Regions from separate parts of the Homo sapiens genome. Here all the other regions are linked to region 1. The links are contacts of gene promoters, found by promoter capture Hi-C in blood cells and fetal thymus (Javierre and others, 2016). All regions are on one chromosome and are shown on one strand. Each heading gives the region's core, a stretch centred on a gene start or on the middle of the fragment in contact. The rest is flanking DNA. Distances are from core to core; before and after follow the strand shown.

The links. Contacts are between HindIII fragments. The CHiCAGO score rates a contact against its expected background, and 5 or more counts as called.
Region 2: a contact is called between a fragment that was not itself captured here and the fragment with the promoter of SNHG25 in region 1, in 1 of 17 cell types (monocytes). The highest score is 6.0, in monocytes.
Region 3: a contact is called between a fragment that was not itself captured here and the fragment with the promoter of SNHG25 in region 1, in 1 of 17 cell types (total CD8 T cells). The highest score is 5.1, in total CD8 T cells.
Region 4: a fragment that was not itself captured here is called in contact with the fragment with the promoter of SNHG25 in region 1 in 1 of 17 cell types (monocytes); the score reaches 6.1 in monocytes.
Region 5: a fragment that was not itself captured here is called in contact with the fragment with the promoter of SNHG25 in region 1 in 1 of 17 cell types (monocytes); the score reaches 5.1 in monocytes.
Region 6: a fragment that was not itself captured here is called in contact with the fragment with the promoter of SNHG25 in region 1 in 5 of 17 cell types (naive CD4 T cells, monocytes, non-activated CD4 T cells and 2 more); the score reaches 9.3 in naive CD4 T cells.
Region 7: a contact is called between a fragment that was not itself captured here and the fragment with the promoter of SNHG25 in region 1, in 1 of 17 cell types (monocytes). The highest score is 5.6, in monocytes.

The regions. Positions count from the first base shown.
Region 1 is chr17:64,144,445-64,147,355 of GRCh38, forward strand. SNHG25 (small nucleolar RNA host gene 25) reads left to right here and starts at 1,526. Exons shown (of 2, transcript NR_132278.1): 1 at 1,526-1,556; 2 at 1,786-1,865. It overlaps SNORD104 (small nucleolar RNA, C/D box 104), which reads left to right and starts at 1,634; the gene lies at 1,634-1,713. SNORA50C (small nucleolar RNA, H/ACA box 50C) reads left to right here and starts at 1,895; the gene lies at 1,895-2,027. TEX2 (testis expressed 2) reads right to left here. Exons shown (of 12, transcript NM_001288732.2): 12 at 2,783-2,911. RefSeq lists enhancers at 1,213-1,767, 1,745-1,954. The HindIII fragment of the contact is 1,672 bases long and covers 778-2,449 here.
Region 2 is chr17:64,617,480-64,620,390 of GRCh38, forward strand. The region is part of intron 1 of SMURF2 (SMAD specific E3 ubiquitin protein ligase 2); the gene reads right to left. Among named protein-coding and RNA genes, the nearest start is that of SMURF2, 43 kb to the right of the region's middle. The HindIII fragment of the contact is 1,787 bases long and covers 608-2,394 here.
Region 3 is chr17:63,713,299-63,716,209 of GRCh38, forward strand. It overlaps STRADA (STE20 related adaptor alpha), which reads right to left. Exons shown (of 13, transcript NM_001003787.4): 5 at 708-810; 6 at 108-229. Among named protein-coding and RNA genes, the nearest start is that of LIMD2, 15 kb to the left of the region's middle. The HindIII fragment of the contact is 2,532 bases long and covers 138-2,669 here.
Region 4 is chr17:63,744,736-63,747,646 of GRCh38, forward strand. It overlaps CCDC47 (coiled-coil domain containing 47), which reads right to left. Exons shown (of 13, transcript NM_020198.3): 13 at 520-2,226. The coding sequence ends at 2,146. Among named protein-coding and RNA genes, the nearest start is that of STRADA, 4.4 kb to the left of the region's middle. The HindIII fragment of the contact is 1,668 bases long and covers 618-2,285 here.
Region 5 is chr17:64,515,924-64,518,834 of GRCh38, forward strand. CEP95 (centrosomal protein 95) reads left to right here. Exons shown (of 20, transcript NM_138363.3): 5 at 800-905. Among named protein-coding and RNA genes, the nearest start is that of CEP95, 10 kb to the left of the region's middle. The HindIII fragment of the contact is 6,240 bases long and covers 1-2,911 here.
Region 6 is chr17:64,497,693-64,500,603 of GRCh38, forward strand. DDX5 (DEAD-box helicase 5) reads right to left here. Exons shown (of 13, transcript NM_004396.5): 12 at 2,857-2,911; 13 at 562-2,634. The coding sequence ends at 2,231. Among named protein-coding and RNA genes, the nearest start is that of MIR3064, 1.7 kb to the right of the region's middle. The HindIII fragment of the contact is 275 bases long and covers 1,407-1,681 here.
Region 7 is chr17:64,475,641-64,478,551 of GRCh38, forward strand. It overlaps POLG2 (DNA polymerase gamma 2, accessory subunit), which reads right to left. Exons shown (of 8, transcript NM_007215.4): 8 at 2,145-2,348. The coding sequence ends at 2,183. It also overlaps a transcript of MILR1 not described here. Among named protein-coding and RNA genes, the nearest start is that of POLG2, 20 kb to the right of the region's middle. The HindIII fragment of the contact is 2,875 bases long and covers 82-2,911 here.

The DNA of each region.
Region 1 (2,911 bases), core at 276-2,775:
TTTCAACAATCTGTGGAACACTTATAAAAACTGATATTTTAGGTCACAAAGAAAACTTTCATACATTGCCCAATGCGGAAACTGTACCATAATGTAATAAATGTTGAGATAACGAAAGTTAAAACAGCAACAAAAATAAATAGAGACTACTAAACACTTGTCAAAGTCATTATTGCTTTGGATTAAAGAGGTTTTTTTTTTTTTTTTTGAGATGGAGTCTCGCTCTGTTGCTCAGGTTAGAGTGTAATGGCGCGATCTCAGCTCATTGCAACCTCCGCCTCCCGGGTTCAAGCGATTCTCCTGCCTCAACCTCCTGAGTAGCTGGGATTACAGGGGCCTGCCACCACGCCCGGCTAATTTTTGTATTTTTAGTAGAGACAGGGTTTCGCCATGTTGGCCAGGCTGTTCTTGAACTCCTGACCTGATCCATCCGCCTCCGTCTCCCAGAGTGCTGGGATTACAGGCGTGAGCCACCGCGCCCGGCCAAAGAGGAATTTTTTGAATTTAAAGTCTATATAGAAAATAAGGAAAATAAGAGCCCATTCAACTACAAACCCATAGGGTGAAATGATTTCACTGTCACATACACACACACACACAAAACAATAAATTTTCCGTATTAAGAGGAAAAAAAGGAAAAGAATTCCCAAGGAAAACAGGGAGGCAATAAAGATAACCGGCGACTGTGACTGCTGGTGTACTGTGTCCTCCCCCAGTTAAGCAAACTATCATTCATCCACCTGTATGTCCGGGGAACAGGCTCAATCAACTCTGCGAAGCTTTCCCAAAGTCAGGCTTTCTGTCCTTTGGGCTTCTACAGTAGGCTGTTCATAGCGCTATGTTAGTATTTATTAAAGTTTTGCAATCCCAGGAAGTTTTTCACATCACTCTGCCCTTTAAATACCTTTGTTTACCACTTAGAATGTGCCAGGCAATTGGCATTAATTCACCGAATCCTTACAATTTTTTTTTTTCGCGGTGTGTGTGTGTTGGGGGGGGGCGGCGGGGGGGTATTCCTAATTTCCAGAAACTGAATCTCAGAAAGGTTAACTGAGCAAGGTCACAGAGCGAACGCATCACAAAGTCAGGATGTGGTGCAGATCGGTCCATTTTCAATACAAGCTCTTTCTACCACGACAGGTTATTTTGCACTTGGGGACAGTTTTTAACTTTCCATTCTCAACTCCTATCCTAGCTCCTGGCACAGAACATGTCATCCAAGTTAGGCATCATCGTCGCCTGCTCTTGGTGAAGTTTTCTTTTGCGTACTGCGGAGAGATGCGCTCATTACCAGCTGGCGGTGGAGTCGCTGAAACGCAAATGGATTTGAGACTGAGCGACTCCCATCTCTATGGTTGGTATGTGACCCATCTATCCTCTGGAGGACTCAGCAAGGACTACCAGTCACCAGACAACTTTACGCGCACGTGGTCGCAAGGTGAACTTGCTATTGGTTAATGGCAGTAAAGCCCGCCCATCAGCGCTGGTCTGCTCCTTTAAAAGAACGCCATCGACGCTCCCCTGTCTTTCAGCGCCTGCAGGTTCCGGGAGGTCAGGTTGTATTCCTGGCGGGTCGTCTGGCTGGGTGGGCCCCGGAGGTCGTGGCTCGGGAGCAGGGAGGCGTAGGGGGGCCGGCCTGCTGTGATGACATTCCAATTAAAGCACGTGTTAGACTGCTGACGCGGGTGATGCGAACTGGAGTCTGAGCCTGCCCGAGCGGAGCTGGGAGGGGGCTGGCGGGCGGGCGCGCGCACACCCGCTGATCTATCACTCTCGTTCTTGTAGCTCCCAGCCGAGGACGTCGGATGTCATCGTCCTTGCTGCTTTGCCACCCCATTCCCGTCAATAAAGTGGTTTGAACCCAACCCTGGTGTCGGTGTGTGTCGTTGGCGACGCGCTGTCTTTGAGCCCCCGCCGAGCTTCCTCGTGGCGCCGGGGGTCAATCTGCAGCGCTAGAGCATGTGCTTGCGCATAACTGGGGCCGCCTGGCCTCCCGCGGGCGGCCTTTTTAACCGCGAGCGACAAGAAGTAACCTGACTGTCCGGCTGCTAGGCTGGGCAATTTTCCAGCTGTTTTGCCACGACAGGCCTCAATCCGTAATACCAAGGCTGGAATGGCGTGTTAGGGGGGCGGTGGCTGACGGGGATACGCGGACTCTTGATGCGTAAGGAGTGCCCCTCTGCTCCCATACGTTCCCCAGCCCAGCCTTCCCTGAGTGTATCGCGCGCGCTGTGCCTTCGCCGTGAGTTCGACATAAGTCCCAGGCTGTCGCGTCTGCCATCAGACGCGCAGATTTAGTTGAAGGCAGCGTGGAATGGCGTCTGCAGGGCTGTTGTGTACTTGACATAAACAGATTCGGTGTGGAACTGCATTGAGTTAACTCCTGACTAAAGGGTAATCGACCTGTTTACAAATAACCATGCAGGAGTACTGACAAGCATGGGACTAAAGCTTTGGGCAGGTTAATCTGTCACTCCTAAACAGTTCAAAATTATAGGGCGGTTGTGAAGGTGAATTAGATTTTATATATGGTTGGGGACAACATAGACACCTAGTTACACAGTCCAGATTCAGTGATTGGTAAAAGATCTTCCACAAGGGCTCCAGTGAAAGGTGCATCAGTTCTGAGTACAGGGCAGCAATGGTGGGCAAGGATGCACGTATGCGTTCACTACATGGACATTCGATGAATGAAGGTGTCCCGAATTAACATTATACTAGACAATGAAGGGTGTAAACTGCAGCCCAGGAGCACCACTGCCCTACCCCCTCAGTTACGAACTTTCACTGGATTCTTTAAATGTGGGCTGAAGATAATGGCACATAGTTTGAAGGATGTAGTGAGGATGGCTTTGTAGCCTTAGGACTGGGCAGTGATCAACGCAGTAAATGAAAGCTGCGATTGCCAGGT
Region 2 (2,911 bases), core at 251-2,750, 470 kb after region 1:
TTATTATATTTTTATTTTTTTGAGATGATCTCACTCTGTCACTTAGGCTGGAATGGAGTGGCGCAAACACGACTCACTGCAGACTCCAGTTAAATTTTCTGGGCTCAAGAGATCCTCCCATCTCAACCTCTGAGTACCTGGGACTACAGGCGCACACCACCATGCCTTGCTAATGTCTAAAATTTTTTTGCAGAGATGGGGTCTTGCCATGTTGCCCAGGCTCAAGCAATCCTCCTACCTCAGTCTCCCAGACTGTTAGAATTACAGGCATGAGCCACTGCGCCCAGCCTCAGTTAACAAATTTAAAATGACCTTTCTAGTCCACTCATATCAAACAACTTTTAAGTAACTACTTAAAAATTTTTTTTCAACAAAGATGAAGATTTTGGTAAAGTTCTCACAAACATGCGTACTTTTTACATTAATAAAACAAGATGAGACTATACAAATAAGCTTTCTAAACACTGAGTGCAAGTTTATCAATAATAGATCTACTTTGACATAATAAATGCAGATTTTAAAGAAATCTAGTCAGAATTATAGATTTTATTCTAGTCACAATTATAATTTTTTTTACTTATCGTGATCAGAGGTAATTTTAAAGTAAAGCTTATCTTAACAAGCATAATAATCAACTTCTGGTGTAAGTTCACATGTTAAAAATAAAAAAGGGCTGGGTGCGGTGGCTTACGCCTATAATCCTAGCACTTTGGAAGGCTGAGGTGAGAGAATCACTTGAGCCCAAGAGTTAGAGACCAGCCTGGGCAATATAGTGAGACTCCGCCTCTAAAATAAATAAATAAATAAAGTAAAAGCTCAGCTAAAGCCAAGCAGCACATTCAGTATGAGATAAATGTAAAACACTTGGTCTAGGTATCTGGTACATAGCAGGCACTCTACGAAAGCTATTATTTTGAGAAACCATCTGAAAGGATTTGTTATATATCTTAAACCAGTATTTCTGTGAATTCTTTATTCCTATATGAGGATGAAAATACACAAAAGTACCGTTCTCCATTCAAAAATTCACCATGACTTAAAGACCTATGCTGTGTGCAGACCAAACATTATCCTGTCTGCTGCTGCTGGAGACTCAACCACCACCTTCTCTACTGGACTCCTTCATTCAAACAGACCCACTCATAACTGATGGCTGTTCAAGAGATGAATATTGTATATTTAAATTAAACCACACAATTTACTTTCTTCATAAGGATGCCGAGAGAAGGAAACCTTATTGTAAAGTTCAAGTATATACTTGCAATGAAGCCTAAACATTATTTTATATGTAGAAAAAGACTTGCATCACTTTTTGGCCACTCCCAAGTTTCCTTCCTTTACCTTCTTTTTCTAGAGACACTTATAGAGGCAGTGTAATATAGTGTGTTAAGCTATAAGCACTATAAAAGAGTTAAATAATTAGGGTCAGAATGCATGGGTTTGAACCTGGTGCTATCCCTTATGAACTTGTGACCCTAAAAACTACTTAACTTCTCTTTGCTTCAGATAGCTCATCTGTAAACATGAGGACAGAAGGATACTAAGAGCCACCTCATGGTGTTGTTTTAAAGATTAAACAAATTGAAACACAGAGAACATGAGACCAGTACCTGGTACACAGCAAGTGCTCAATAAACACTGGCTATTATTATTACTCAACTCTAAAATTTCTCATAAAATTAACCTACGAGGTTGCAAACACATTAAAAAAGAACATGGCCGGGCACGGTGGCTCATGCCTGTAATACTAACACTTTGGGAGGCCGAGGCGGGCAGATCATGAGATCAGGAGATCGAGACCAGCCTGGCTAACATGGTGAAACCCCGTCTCTACTAAAAATACAAAAAATTTGCCAGGCATGGTGGCATGTGCCTGTAGTCCCAGCTACTCTGGAGGCTGAGGCAGGAGAATCGCCTGAACCCGGGAGGCAGAGCCTCCCGTGAGCCGAGATCATACCACTGCACTCCCGCCTGGGTGACACGGCGAGACTCTTGTCTCAAAAAAAAAAAAAAAAAAAAAAAAAGAAGAAGAATATAATTTGGCAAGACGTTTGCCTTAGCCAAAACAAATACCATAGATTAGGTGGCTTAAACAGCAAACATTTGTTTTTCACAAATCAATGGAGGCTGAGAAGTCCAAGATCAAGGTGCCAGCAGAGTCAATGTCTGGTGAGGGCCGTCTTCCTGGTTTGCATACTCCCACCTTCTCCCTGTATGCTTGCATGGCCCCCATAATCTCTCCCATGTCTCCTGTTATAGGGGCACTAATCCTATTCATGAAGGCTCCACCCTCATGACCTCATTACCTCCCAAATGCATCACCTTCAAATACCATCACATTGGGGATTAGGCTTCAACATAGGAATATTGGGGGACACATTCCATTCATAGCAAAGCTTATGTACCTAGCAAGCTTTCAGTAAATGCTGTTAATTGAGTCCCAATCTGTTTCTCTAGCCTCACTCTCTTCCCAAGCTCCGAACTCATACACCCATTTAGATTCCTCACCAGCACTTCAAATTATATTTTTTCAAAATGGAATTCATCAGCTTCCCTAGTGAACCTGCTCTTCTTTTTGACCTCCGTAGTGCTGTGAACTGCACCACGTTTCCAGTCATCCAGAAAGCAATGTCTTTATCTCTCTTCCTCTCCCTGACCACCTCACATACCTAAAGCAGTTGCCAGATTATAGCCGGTTATCACATACCTCTGCTTATCTCCATTTCCAGTGTTCACATTTAAATAATACATCTAGAGTATTTTACAATGTGCCAAAAAACTTCTACATAGATTGTTTTCTTTAACCCCTAAAGCTTGTGAGTTATCTAATATCCACAGAAAAACTGTAAGTGAATGTTTTGGCTCACCCCTAACTGCCACCTAGGAAAAGAGTTTAGGCATTGTGAATTCA
Region 3 (2,911 bases), core at 154-2,653, 430 kb before region 1:
TAACTTCCGAACGTTTAGTCTCCCTTCATTTCTTTGTAATTCCTTGTAATTCCTATCAGAGCCAAGAGCCCACCCTCCCTCCATGTGACACACTCATGGTTTATTACCTGCAAGAATGTTACCATCTCATTGGAACAAGCTTCTAGGTTAATCCTCCGTACAGTCACGTACTCTCCTGTTGGTTTGTACCTTGCTAGATTCACAGTCATCAGGTCCTCAAATCCTTTGCCTAAAAGAAAAAGGGAATGCCATACGCAAGGACAAGAACAACAAAAGGTTTTAAGAAAATTTTCCTTTAAAAAAGGGACTTGATTTCAAAAGAAACTTAATGTTAAATTTTTCACTACTGTTACTTTTTTTTTTTTCCTTTTCCCAGCAGAATTTAACTGTTATGTTCATGGCTCACATTTCTTGATTTTTCTCTCATCAGTTCCTTCTCAGCCAACCTTTCTGACTCACTATGGCCAGGACACCGGAAACATGGCAGCCACAAAGGAAAGATGGCAAAAGAGCTTCTTTCCTGGAAGTTTGATCTCTTCCCATACTTGGCATAAAAAAACAGAGAAGACCCACAGAAGCAAGTCTGTGCCCATGAATCCTCCTAACTAGTGGATGGCCTCTGCTGTACACACATCTGGGGCTGCTGAGAAAGCTGCAGCAGCCCCTGGAGCAGAAAGCAGGAGAGTAAGGACGGCCCCTGCACATACCTATCACAGTGAGCAGCTCGTAACACCCTCCCTCTGGCAGAAAGCTACTCATGACCTCCTGTTTAGAGAAGGATGCTATTGACTCTGAGCTCGCATCATTGGTCTAAAAAAGAAAAAGAAAAATAGGTTAGTAGAGAAAACTGGGGGTGGGATGGGAGTGGGGTGAAGGTGGTAATTCAGACCCACGAGGAGACTGGCATCTAAACACACACACAAATCCCGACTCAGTGCCAGCACTATTTGAAGAGAAACAAAACACTACATTCAGGGTAGTAATCAGCACTAATATCAGAGCAAGTGTTAGGGTTGTCTACAAATGAGGAGACAAGGACCTGTTCCCATCAAATGTTAATCTGCTTGTCCTTTCCAACAATCAATGCATTTGCTAAAAGCTATGAAATTCTCACTTGGAGAAGGGATGTCTAGAGAATGAAAGCATGTTTGGAAAAGAGAAGCAGGTGGAGAGGTAGGGGTTCTCATGAATTTCCTGATGCATTAGGATCCTATTTTTAAGGTCCTCACCACAAGATCCCAAAAGGTCAAACGCTGAATCTTGCTCTAGGGAAAATGTGGCCAGGAGTAGCCCCCTCTTTAGCAAACCAAGAGCCCGGGCCAGTCATTGCCTGACATTTCCAAGTGAAGTGGGAGAACCCTGATGCCCTGAGCTGCAGGCAAGGCACAGAGCTGTCAGGTCTCAGGCATCGTCCAGGCAGCTGACATGGCCTGCTCCCTCGTTCCTGCCCACGTGTGCTGTGAGTGAAGCTGGAGTCCAGCCACTTAGGATGTGTCACAACTCTGGCCTCTAAGGTCCTAGAGGAAGGTGTCCAGCCATGTCTGAGTTTGTGCAAAACACACGGCAGACCAACAGCTCTTCTTTCAGCTTAATGGACTGTTTCCTTCTTCCACACCTAAATTTATGTGTATGATTTAGGGACTGTGACTGCTTTTCTTTTAGATTCTCTTTCTTTAGATGCACATCTAACTGAAATGGAGAAACCTGGGCCAGCTCATGTTTCATGTGCTGCACTCATAAACCTGACCTCCAGGCAGAAAAAGTCCTTTGTGAAAGTATGAGAGGCTCCTGACCCAGCACTACCCAGAAGAGCACGAGCTGAGAGTGTTCTGAAAAGGCGGTGCTTGAACAACTCTTTGGGAAGCGGCTCTGCAGAGGAAACCATAAAGATGACGGTGCTCTATACCTGTAAGATGACCAGAGTATACTTTCCAGAGCACTTCCAAATTGCACATGATTCCTCCATAGCTCAGTCAAGTAGCCGGGACAGATCTTATCTCCACTTTTCACTAACAAAAACGAGGGCCAAGGAGATTATGTGACTTGCCAAAAATCAAAACGTGAGTACATGGCACAGGACCCAGGCCCAAACCAGTGAGATTAATCTACCACCCTGTTGGCTGACGTTTCACGTGTATCTGGTTTGTTTGTTGTTTTGTTGCTGTTGTTTTTAAGATATGGGTTATCTCTTTGTCGCTCAGGCTAAAGTGCAGTGGTGAGTTCCTGGCTCACCGTGGCCTCGAACTCCTGGGCTCAATTGATCCTCCTGCCTCAGCCTCCCAAGTAGCTGAGATTATTGGCAGGAGCTGAGATTATTGGCTGTATGTGGTTTCAAAACAGTTGATGCTGCTGATGGGGAAAGAAACCCTCAAGTGGGCTCTGTCTCCCTCACCACTTACCCTGGCAATAAGAGGAACCTAGTCAAGCAAAATTAAGCCCTGTCACCAAATTCCATTTCTAATTTAATCAATTTTTAAATTTCTAAGATTTGGCCATATTGTTGTATTTCACTGTAGTTCGCCCATTTTCACTGCTGTATCATATATTCAGCACATGAATATATCTCAGTTTATCCAATTCCAACTTTGATGGCTCATTTGGGTTGTTTTTCAGTTCTGCTATTATGGACTGTGCTACTATAAACATGTTTGAATATGTATCCTGACTAAAGCTTGTAATTAGGAGTGGCTGGAATTGCTAGTGACAGAGCATATGAACAATCAACTGTTTGAGACAATGCCAAATTATTTTCCAAAATGGTTATACCAATTTACACTCCCACCAGCAACGTACGTGGTTTTTTTTTTTTTTTTTTTTAGACGGAGTCTCACTCTGTCACCAGGCTGGAGTGCAGTGGCACGATCTTGGCTCAATGCAAGCTCCGCCTCCTGGGTCCAAGCAATTCTCCTGC
Region 4 (2,911 bases), core at 202-2,701, 400 kb before region 1:
ACAATCTCACATATATATTTTCTCTTAGTGTTCAACTACCTGTGAAGCAGGCAGGGCAAATAATTACTATCCTCACTTCACATTAGGTTAATAACTTGCCGAAAGTCAAAGGATTAGTAATTAGTTCTGCTGGCACTAAAAGCCAGGTCTTTGTCTTACAGTCCAGTGCTTATTTTGGCATTGCTAAACATCCAGGCAATGCAAATGAGATTGGAGACTTAGTGGTTTTCCAGTTTGTGACACTAAACAACATCCTCCTCTCTTTGTCCTCGCATTCACAGGAGAGTTAATGGAGTCTTAAGAGGTGGAATGCAGGGAGGAGCCCATAAATAACATATGGGGCTCTAAAAATATAAAATGTTTTTAAAATGATTGAATGGTAATAACAAAAGGAATATTCAGATGAACTCTTTTGAAGGAAAAGCATTTCAGTGCTGACTTTTATCGAACAGAAAGAATTTTCCTCTGAGCTTATACTCTTGTAGGATAACTCCACAAAGTCAAGGCGGCACTCTGAGATTTTGTCAATCACTTTAATAGATGTCCATAGGTAGTTCATATGAATGCTTAAGTTACAAAATTAGCTGCCATGGTCCAAATGTATGGGACTTTAGGAAAGCTTTTCTTACTCAAAAGATAACTAAGACTATCAACTTTGATTTCTAAAATGTAATTTAAAGGTTTGTAAAACAAGGCCACTACTATAATTATATAATATTAAAGTAATTAAGTTTTATGTTAGTTATTTTAATAACAACTTCATGAACTGTTAAAAATATTACATTTGCATCTCTCAGTTTACATATTTCTGTATTAACTTGGAGAAAAACCCATGTGAAAAGTTTCCATGCAGTTACAAAGGCAGCAGCACATGCTGTTTTCACAGCAACTTGTTATTGCCTCAGAACAGGCCTGCACTAAAGCATCAACAAAAAATACCCACCACCCCACTCCCACCAGAAAACCCAACCCTTACCCATCCCCGGCAAAAATTACCTGGTACAAGCAATGACCTAAAAATGCTTTCTTGGTAAGAAGCATTTATAAAATGCAGAGATCTGAACAAGCTAAGTGCTCGTGCAGATACATGGGCCTCTCCTCCAAGAGTTGGTTCCGCAAGAGGTGGAAAGAACTCTCAATAGTTTAGGAAAGCTCATTTTCAAAAGTATACTTACACATATTCATGGCCATTTCTTTGAAAGAACATACCCAGCCTCAACTGTGGAAAAGATAAAAGCAGAGGGAGAAGCAACGGCACACAGCCATAATATAGAGAACAGAGCTTCTCCATGAACATCCACCAGGCTGCAGCAACCAAGAAGGAAAAAACATTTGTGATTTCACACAGACCAATGATCTTACCTAGGTGAAGCATTAATTTTTCATGCATTTGTTACTCAAGAAAATAAACATACAACCACTTAAAATACAGCATTCACGTTGTCACTGGTTCGTGGTATCAGGTAAGGAAAAAATGATGCTCCTGTCCCTAGAATTTTCCATGTACATGTCAGTATCCTAATGCCTACAGACTTCCTATTAATTTTGTTATCAGCATCTCCCACCTAAAAACATATACTACATTATGTTCTGGGTCCCTGAAATTTCATTACTACATACAGTGTTCTAATTTTTACTTTTTCTCAAGTTTAATGTAGACATACAAGAAAACATCAAGCAATGTTTATTGTGCAATTCCAATCATTATTTGCAGAATCTTGGTTTAGAGTCAGTCTTTATAGCCATTTCAACTGCTTGGTTTAAACAAAAAGCAACAATCTGGTTATCTACCTATAAATTTCACGGTATTTCTTTAAACACTGAAGTACTAAAAGCACTGATGATTTGTATTATAATTTTTAAAATATTTAAAACCTACACAGATTTCATAGATCATTCCTTTTATAAAATAATCAAAATAATTTGATTATCTGGAAAAAAAAATTCTTGAAACAGAGCCCTTTCCAGGTATCTTCAATCTCTGTAAAACCCCAAACCCCAAACAGAGTAGATGATGAAATAAGGATTTCTCAGTTGCCCAAGACTGTCTGAAATTTAAGGTTGAGAAATGGACTGGCGTTTTTCATGTTTCCTGTGAATTCAGAGCTTACAGGTGGCATCAGAACTCAAATCTCTGGGATGGCTTTACATGGCTTTCACTTTGATTTGTTTCATTTTCATTTGCTTCTTTTCCAACTTCTTTTGCTCACGCCTCAATGCAGCCTCCTAGAGAAAGAAGGGGTAATAAATAGAGAAAGGGAGTGGGGACGAGAGAATTCAAATTAAGCTTGAAACATATGTTAAAAAAAAATCCAAATTAGAATACTGCCTATAGTATTATTCAAAAACTTAGGCTTGCACCATAACATTCTAGAAGATAGTTATAAAAATAATTGCCAATATCTACATTAGTGAATAAAAATTAAATCAACTTCAAATGAAGCAAAGGTAAACTAAAATCTCAGTTTTGAAAGAAACTACTATAATTAACCAGCCTTTGTTATTCTGGTTTGATTTTTTTCTGTACCCAGGGAACACTTAGCCTGATGTTCACCATACCATTCATGATGGCATTATATCATAAATGTATAACTGCCAGAAGATACATTCTACTTCAGTTCAATAAATTTTAAGAATCTTGTTCCATCAGGTTATTCATTGCAAATTTCTTATTAGCACAGACACCATACCTGCACATAATACTTAAATTCATAATGCTCTATTTGAGACATCATATTTATCAAATGTGATAAAAATTATCAAATTTATCATATTTTTATTTAGGAATTAGGAAGTTACATAGAAGAGTAAGAAGGTTCAGGTTATTATTACGTGGACTGATAGAAGCCTTAGAGGTCAAGTCAAAGTATGACTTCACTGTTGGCCACTAGTGGTCACACCTGATTAAAAG
Region 5 (2,911 bases), core at 142-2,641, 370 kb after region 1:
GGGTTCTTCCTCTCACTATATGATGGCAGCTCTCTAAGCCTGTTTTCTCATCTGAAATTCTTTCATGGTTGTTGTGAAAGTTAAGTAAGTAGATGTGTGTAAACAGTTGGGCACACAGCCTAGCTCAGAGTAAATGCATAATAAATGTTAATTGATGTTATTGAAATGTTGCTTGGTGAATATGGAAGTAGAAAAAAATGAAGGTGGGTGTTTGAATGGTGAATCTCTAGACATGGGCATGAGAATATCCAAAGGGGTAAATCTGAATCATGGGAGGTTTCACCTACATGTATTTTGAAATTATTTCCCTAGTGAGTTATAGCTACTGGTGAAAGTATGTATTCTTCAAGTATGGTGGGGTGGAAAAAGACTGATGGTCTTAAGAAAAATTTCATCCAAGCCCTGATACAGCCTGACTCAGCCTAAGGCATGATTATCTTGGAGCTTGCATTATGTTGACACAATCACGTTTTCTGTCACCTTGATATACCTCAGACATCCTTTACAGATGGAGAGGTATAAAAATATTGAATGGACCTGCCACTGACTTAAAAAATAAAACATTGCTCATACAACTGTAGACCCTGTTTTTAAAGCAATATTCTTGTTTCTTTGTTACTCGAATAATACATGCTCATTACAGGTGATTTGGTTCTTTCTGATTGCACTTTCACTAGAACCCTGTTTACCATGGCAAGTTAGGGGTGCCTCACTGTCCTTACCTTTCCCTGCCTCTTACATAGAAAAAGTAGTATTCACTTAGGGGTTTTTTGGTATTGTTTTTATCTGTTCTGAACAGGTGAAACTGAACAGTATTTTAAAGAATCTGATCGAGGAGAACGTTTGGAAGAGCCAGAAAGTACTAAAGAATCTAAATCATCATGGAAAAGAGTTTCTTTTGGGAGGTAGCACTTAGTGTCTCTGAATTTGATGAAAACAAGTTACGCTTTTTGGACTAAGAATTAAAATCACACGTAATATACCAAGATGGCACCAAAAAAAGCTAATGTGAAACTTCTACTAACTTCTCATATTTTAAACTTTCCTGAGGGAGTTTTAAGAACCTTGAGTTACATATAATACCTAAATCTCAGTATCAACTATCTACTCATTTTTATATTTTTCTTTTTTTTTCTTTTTTGAGACGGAGTCTCATTCTGTTGCCCAGGCTGGAGTGTGGTGGCATGATCTCGACTCACTGCAAACTCTGCTTCCCAGGTTCAAGGGATTCTCCTGCCTCAGCCTCCTGAGTAGCTGGGATTACAGGCACGCGCCACCATGCCCGGCTAATTTTTATATTTTTAGTAGAGATGGGGTTTCACCATGTTGGTCAGGCTGGCCTCGAACTCCTGATCTCAGGTGATCCACCTGCCTTGTCCTCCCAAAGTGCTGGGATTACAGGCATGAGCCACCGCGCCTGGTCCCTGTTTTTCTCTTAATCATCAAAGTACGTCATCATCTTTGCAAAAAACTTGCAAAATAGAAAAAGCAGGAAAAAAAATCTATTCCGAACTAAATAACTGCTGTTAACATTTTGTTAAATTTTTTAGTCCTTTTTACTATTTTTTTCTTTTTTGGATTTAGTCATATGTCTATATAATTTCGTTGCCTGCCCCTCACCCCTGCTTTTTTAATAAAGAGACAGGGTCTTGCTCTGACACTCATGGTGGAGTACAGTGGCGTGATCAGAGTTCACTGTAGCCTTGAACTCCTGAGCTTAAGCCCAAGTAGCTGGGACCACAGGTGTGCGCCACCACACCTGGCTAATTTTTTTTTTTTTTTTTTTTTTTAACAGAGATGGCATCTTGCTATATTGACCAGGCTGGTCTTGAATTCCTGGCCTCAAGCGATCCTCCTGCTGCAGCCTCCCAGAGTGCTGGGATTATAGGCATGACCCACCTCACCAGGCTCGTTTCCTGCATTTTTAAACTTAACATTAAGTGTTCTCAAGTTGTTTAATTTTTTTTTTGAGACACAGTCTTGCTGTGTCACACAGGCTGGAGTGTGCAGTGGCACAATCTCAGCTTACTGCAACCTCTGCCTCCCGGTTTCGAGTGATTCTTGTGCCTCAGCCTCCTGAGTAGCTGGGACTACAGGTGCACGCCGCCACGGCTGGCTAATTTTTGTATCTTTAGTAAAGGTGAGTTTTCACCGTGTTGGCAAGGCTGGTCTTGAACTCCTGACCTCAAGTGATCCGCCTGCCTCAGCCTCCCAAAGTGGTGGGATTACAGGCGTGAGCCCCTGCGCCCAGCCTCAAGTTGTTAAATTCTTTATAATAATTTGTAATCACTGTATAACATCATTCATGTGGATGCTTCATAAATTACTAAGCCATTCCTCTAAAGTAGAGAGTTTTTTTAAATATTATCAAAAACGTGATACTTAATGTTTATTCTTTTTTTCCTCATATCTTGAGGCTAGATTCAGAGTAAGACAGTGTAAATGTTTTAAGGCTAATAATAAAAGTTGCCAGACTGTTTTCCAAAAAGGCCATGACTGTACATTTACCAACAGTATAGCAATGCTGGGTTACAGGACCTTCATGAGCCAGTATCATTGATCATTTTCACAGTTTTTAAACTTGTGCTTCTTTCATAGACAAAAATGTATTGTCATGACAGGTTTGATTGCACTTCTTGCTAACTAGAGGTTGAGCATAATGCTATGTCTTCATGGTTCGAAGAGCACAGGCAATGCCTTCTTTTTTAGGTATAGTACATTGTAAAAAATGTGTCTCAGAGGAGACCATCATAAGATGAAATTTTTTTTTTTTTGAGACAGAGTTTTGCTCTTGTTGCCCAGGCTGGAGTGCAGTGGTGCAATCTCGGCTCACTGCAACCTCTGCCTCCCAGGTTCAAGCAGTTCTCCCGCCTCAGCCTCCAAAGTAGCTGGGATTACAGGCGCCTGCCAC
Region 6 (2,911 bases), core at 294-2,793, 350 kb after region 1:
GGTGTCAGAGAAAACCACGTACGTGCAATTTCTTCCAGGGGCCCCTTCTATGGGTTCATCAAAACAATGAGACTTGTGACTGTTATTATTAAGAGACTCATGATTAAATTGCAGGTTTCTGATTTTGCAGTTTCTATTTAAATAGGTCGAGACCTTAAGACCTACCCAGAAAGTGGAAAAGTGGTATACCCAGACTGAGGAAGTTTGATTCCAAAGTCCATGATTTCTTATACCAGCCTCAGTTACGAAAACCTTTAAAGAGGTTCAGGGAAAAAGGAACAATCTACATTTCACTGTGAGACTACCAAACTACTACCTGATTAAGAGGGGTAACAGCTTAGCAATTGAGTTAATGTAATTCAGGAGTAAAGTTTTATCATTAGTAAAGTGCTGTACCAGGTTCAGGAAATAGTTCTTCTTTACAAGTGTATACAAGGGTTTAAAAAAAGGCCAGCTAGATAGTAATTAACTGCAAAGCTGGGTACTACTGCCAGGTGTTTTCCACATTCAGGAACTCACACCAGGTAAAAGGCCTATACGCAAATAAATAAAAAGAGAGAATGGGGAGAAAAATCACATTTATTAGTTAAGACGACCACAGGCTGGACACAACACACATGCTAAAAAGTGGACTGTCTTTTAAAACTTCCAAGGTAAATAGGTAAATGTTTTCCACAGCCCAACAATCATTTCAGTGTTTACAAATTAAAAGGCCCACGGTTAAGACATTAAACAGTAAAATATGTAATAAATGCTCCAACCTACCCTCTCCCCCGAAAGCTGCTTCTAAGTTTAAAACCATGAATTTGACTAACCATGCCATTGAAAACCATCCAGGTTACTACAGGCTGAATTAGTTTTCAATGTCTAAGTCCTAGAAATATCACTCCCTATCCCAGCCCTAGCAAATTCTAACTTTACATTTGACATAAGGCATTAACATCAATTAAAGCCTCAGTTTAATAATCAGAATTTAAATGAAGTCTCCTGAAGACCTCTCTTCTGGCAAAAAAAAACACGTATCAGACTCTGGGAAAACATTCAGACCCACTTCTAGCTATTACTGAAATAAATGATTAGAAAGTTACGTTGGTGAGCCGAAGTTAAACCTAAAGCTATCCCCTGGATCTTTCTAGCAATAAACCCATGTTGAACCTACCATGAAAACTTTCATTCACTGTGCTTTTGGTTACGTTGCCTCCTGATTAGTCATTAATTTTAATGAGGTTTTTTCCTTGTGTTGAGTATGAATAGACCTTACAGTTTGAGGATCTCTAGAATTCCCTGAATTATTGGAAAGACATTCATGACTCCCAGTGTGACTAGTTAAGAGCCCCAGGGAGCCTGTGAAGACTAGAATCTACAAGTAACCTGCACTAAGAACGAAATTCAGTAAAGGAGACTCAAGCTTAGCTCCTGGCCATCTTAAAGGGCTAATGTATGTCTTTCACAGGTTTGTTCAACATTTCAGTAATTCACAGTATAGCCAAGAGCATGAGTATAAGTCTCTTGAAAAAGCCAGTTATTTGGAGCTTTTTAAATTATAAACTTTGAAAAAGTCACCCACGTTCTCACACTATATAGATGACTTTGTATCTATTTTACTATTTTCTCATTTAACCATACTAGCAAATAAGGAAAAAGGCTATTAAATGACTCCCCTGATGCTGGAAGCTGACAAAGCTTTTATGCAATTTAGCCTGTAACTAAAAATTCACCTGTATCAATTCATTCTGACTCCTGCAATATGAATAGCTCATTATAAAGAAGGGCCTTCTGATTCCCCCTGCCTCCCAAATTAAATAAAAAGGAACAGTCATTTGTTTTCATGGAAAAAAAAAACCAAACAAAAACAAAAAAAAAACCAGACCATCTTAAGCAAAGTTTTACATGACATTATATAAAATAAAGTACAATTTCCACTTAATTCAGTCTTCAAATATTTTTTATTGGAAGGCCATGCATTGCCTTCATTTATTGTATTTCAAATCACTGTACATTTACTTTTGTGAAAACACTGCCTGCATTTTCTAGTACAAAAAAAACCTAAAAATTGTTTCAGGAATGTAGAGAAATATCCAACTTAAATAGCGAAAAAGTGCACCATAATTACTGCTGCACTGCAGTCATTTCTGCAATTCCCATGTTTCTTAAATAACTATCTTGTCAGATAACACACAATATAAAGAGCAATTATGAAAAACAGACATTTACATATACTTCTAAAGTCTTATTGGGAATATCCTGTTGGCATTGGATAACCAATCATAGGTGCAGCTGCAGTAGCAGGATATGCATATGCCTGTTGGTTCATACCATTGTGCATATTTGGAACATTACTTCCGTATTGCTGAGTGCTATCATAACCATTCTGGTAAGTCCCTGTTGGATTACCAGTCCTAAAACTGGTCTGTATACCAGCAGACACAAAATTACTTCCAAAGCTCCCATTGGTGTAATTTGCAGCACTGTAAACACCATTCTGAGTTTTTGCCCCAAAATCTCTTTTAAGCAGGCTAGAGTAACCTCTGTCATAATTTTCCCTGTCTCTAAAGGTATTAAATCCACCCCTTTTGCCCGCAGAGTATCTGTCCCGACGGTCATCCTTCATGCCTCCTCTACCCCTGGAACGACCTGTCAAGAAAACAATTGCAAATTGATCAATTATGTCTATGACACAAATCATTGTGGACAGAAAGAAACAGATCTATTCATGGTAGGCGTGAAATGTTTTTACAATTTTTCAGCTTAAGTTTTCACATTCAAGGTTTTACTCACCCTCCAATACCATTTAAATGGATTTGTAGACAACGATGTGACTCGTAACTACCAACATTTCCTATCAGTCATCCTTACCTGAACCTCTGTCTTCGACCAACTGAAGCAACTTGGGATTAATTGCTTGATTAGC
Region 7 (2,911 bases), core at 269-2,768, 330 kb after region 1:
CTCCAACTCAAAAAAAAAAAAAAACAACAAAAAAAGTACTCTAGCCAACAAAGAAGGAAGATAGAATATCACCATTTTGCAAGCTTTAATGAACTCACCACTTGAGGTATTAATCAATGGTTGCTGGCCACCCCAAAAAAGAAACAAACAGACACTACTACCACTTCCTTTTTTTTTTTTTTTTTTTTTTTGAGACAGCGTCTCACTGTGTCACCCAGGCTGGAGTACAATGGCGCGATCTTGGCTCACTGCAACCTCTGCCTCCTGGGTTCAAGCGATTCTCCTGCCTCAGCCTCCCAAGTAGCTGGGATTACAGGCGCCCACCACCACGCCCAGCTAATTTTTTGTATTTTTAGTAGTTTCACCATGTTGGCCAGGCTGGTCTCAAACTCCTGACCGCAGGTAATCCACCTGCCTCAGCCTCCCAAAGGGTTGGGATTACAAGCGTCAGCCACTGGCCAACTCAGTGCTATTCTTATTTCATCTCCCACCACTTAAAAAAGTTTGTTTTAAACAGGAGAATTATAAAGCAAGTCTCAATTACCATAAATGTATGTATCTGTCAGACAAGGATTTTTTTAAAAAGAAAAATATAAACATACTACCATTATCACACCCAACAAAATTGTAAATAATTCCTTGATATCATGTAGTGTTATTTTTTTAATGTGATAATAGTGTGGTTATTAACAAAAGATCCTTAAATATTTCCAGATTAAATGGTAGCTGCTATCTGCCTTGAAATAATATTCAAGGAGGCCAGGTGAGGTGGTTCATGCCTGTAATCCCCATATTTTGGGAGGCTGAGACAGGAGGATCACTTGAGCCTAGGAGTTTGAGACCAGCCTGGGCCACATAGTGAGACCCTGTCTCTTAAATTAATAAATAAATGTAAATAAATAAATTACTGATATAATATGGAAGGGTGGTATTAGTGGATGAGGTGGGACTGGCCAAAGGTTGATTGTTGTTGGTGCTAGATGATCACTACATAGAATTAGTACAATTATATGTCTGCTTTTAAAATTCTCCATAATAAAAAAAAGCATAAAATAACCAAAACAAGGCTAGGTGCAGTGGCTCAAAATTGTTATCCCATCATTTTAGGAGGTCAAGGCAGGAGGACTACTTGAGGCTCGGAGTGAAAGATCAGCTTAGCCAACATAGTGAGACCCTGTCTCTACAAAAAAAATTAAAATTAAAATAAAAAAAAAAAGAGAAAAACCTACCAAGTAAAATCAATTAAGTCAGTCAAACTTTTGAAATATTTTACAGGCACTATCAGTTGGAATTTTTGTCAAGTTGGTAACAATGGGATATTTTACACAATCATATCAACACATAAAAGTTAAAAGATTTCTTATAAACATAGATATTAGACAGGAAACAAACTACAATATATGACATCTAACATATATTTTAGTTGCTTTTCAAAAATCCGTAAATACTCTAAGTTTTAAAAGTTTAGTTTTAGGTTAATTTTTGATATCTGACAGTATAGATGTGGCAGATTCCATAAAGACCTTTTCCTTCCTGGTAACAAAGCCCATTTCTGAGAGAGTAAGATACTATTGCAGCCTCAAGGGATAAATTGCGTTTGATCTAAATCAGATCATTTTCATTCCCTTGGATGGTGATTTGCCTAGAAATTATCATGTGATTTAGTTCTGACCAAAGAGATGTAAAGACATCTCCCGACTGGGATGTCTGGAAAAGTTTTTACTTCCCTAATTTAAAAGGGAAGAGTGTTGGCTGACTAGCTCTTGTCTCTTTAACTTTTCTCCTAACTAGAATGATAATTAGGCTGGAAATACAGCAGCCACCTAAGATCCCGAAGCAACAATGATAAACACCAGCGTACTAAACATGGCAGAACAGAAGGGAAGTGCCTGGGTCCCTAACTATAGAAACAGTAATACTAGCTTTGGACAGTCTACCCGCTAGAGTTCTTGTATGTAAGAAAAACAAACCCCAATTTGCTTAATCCAGTATAGTAGATTTTTGTTTCTTGTAGCTGAACATATTCCTGATACAATGAAAGACATAAAAAATATAAACACTGAATGAAAGCAAGCACCACAAATGTCCACTTTATAAGTGCAAAGGGGCTAGAAATAAATCTAAGTGAACATAAGACAACCAAATTAGGAGAGAAGAATATTTATTATACAAATATAAAAATCTATACATTCTTAGCTGATGATATATACTTAATCAAAAAGTCTTTTAATTTGGATATATGCATCATTTCCTTCATTGTGGTGTCTCTGCTTCTCAGATGTATTAATCCATTCTCCAAAGTAGTTTCAGTAACCAAAACTGTGAAGAGAATACTCATTTCATCATACCTAAGAAAAAAGTAGTTAAACAGACACATGAGCACAAATGTAAATAATAAATTCCTCCACGTTGCCAGCTGTAATTCAGTGTTCATGCACTCTCAAGAGTCACAGACTCAGGGCTTAAGGGTGGACCAAAAAAACCCAACATTTTTAAAGTTTCTGAATTGTATTTAAAGTAATATTTTCAGACAGTTTCTAACTTATTGCTAGAGCTGAAAAGTCATAAAAGAAAATAAAATCTGAGAATAAACACTGGTACCTCAACACATCATTTGGGGTGATATCACAGAAGAACCGCATAATAACCTCAGCCTTTTGGTTCTTGGATGCAATCCAAGAACAATTATTTTAGACTGAAGTCTCTTACAATAAACAATATTATAATAAAGATGCAATTTGGTATAACAAATTATACCAAAATCATGTTTCCTTTATTGAGTAGCTAGCTTATAGCTTCTAGTTCAGCAATAACCAAACAGATAGATGCACGGCTGACCTTCTGTATGCTTACCAAGTCACACTATCTCATTACTGTTTATTTCCTTTGTAGGACTCCATCAGAAACTTTT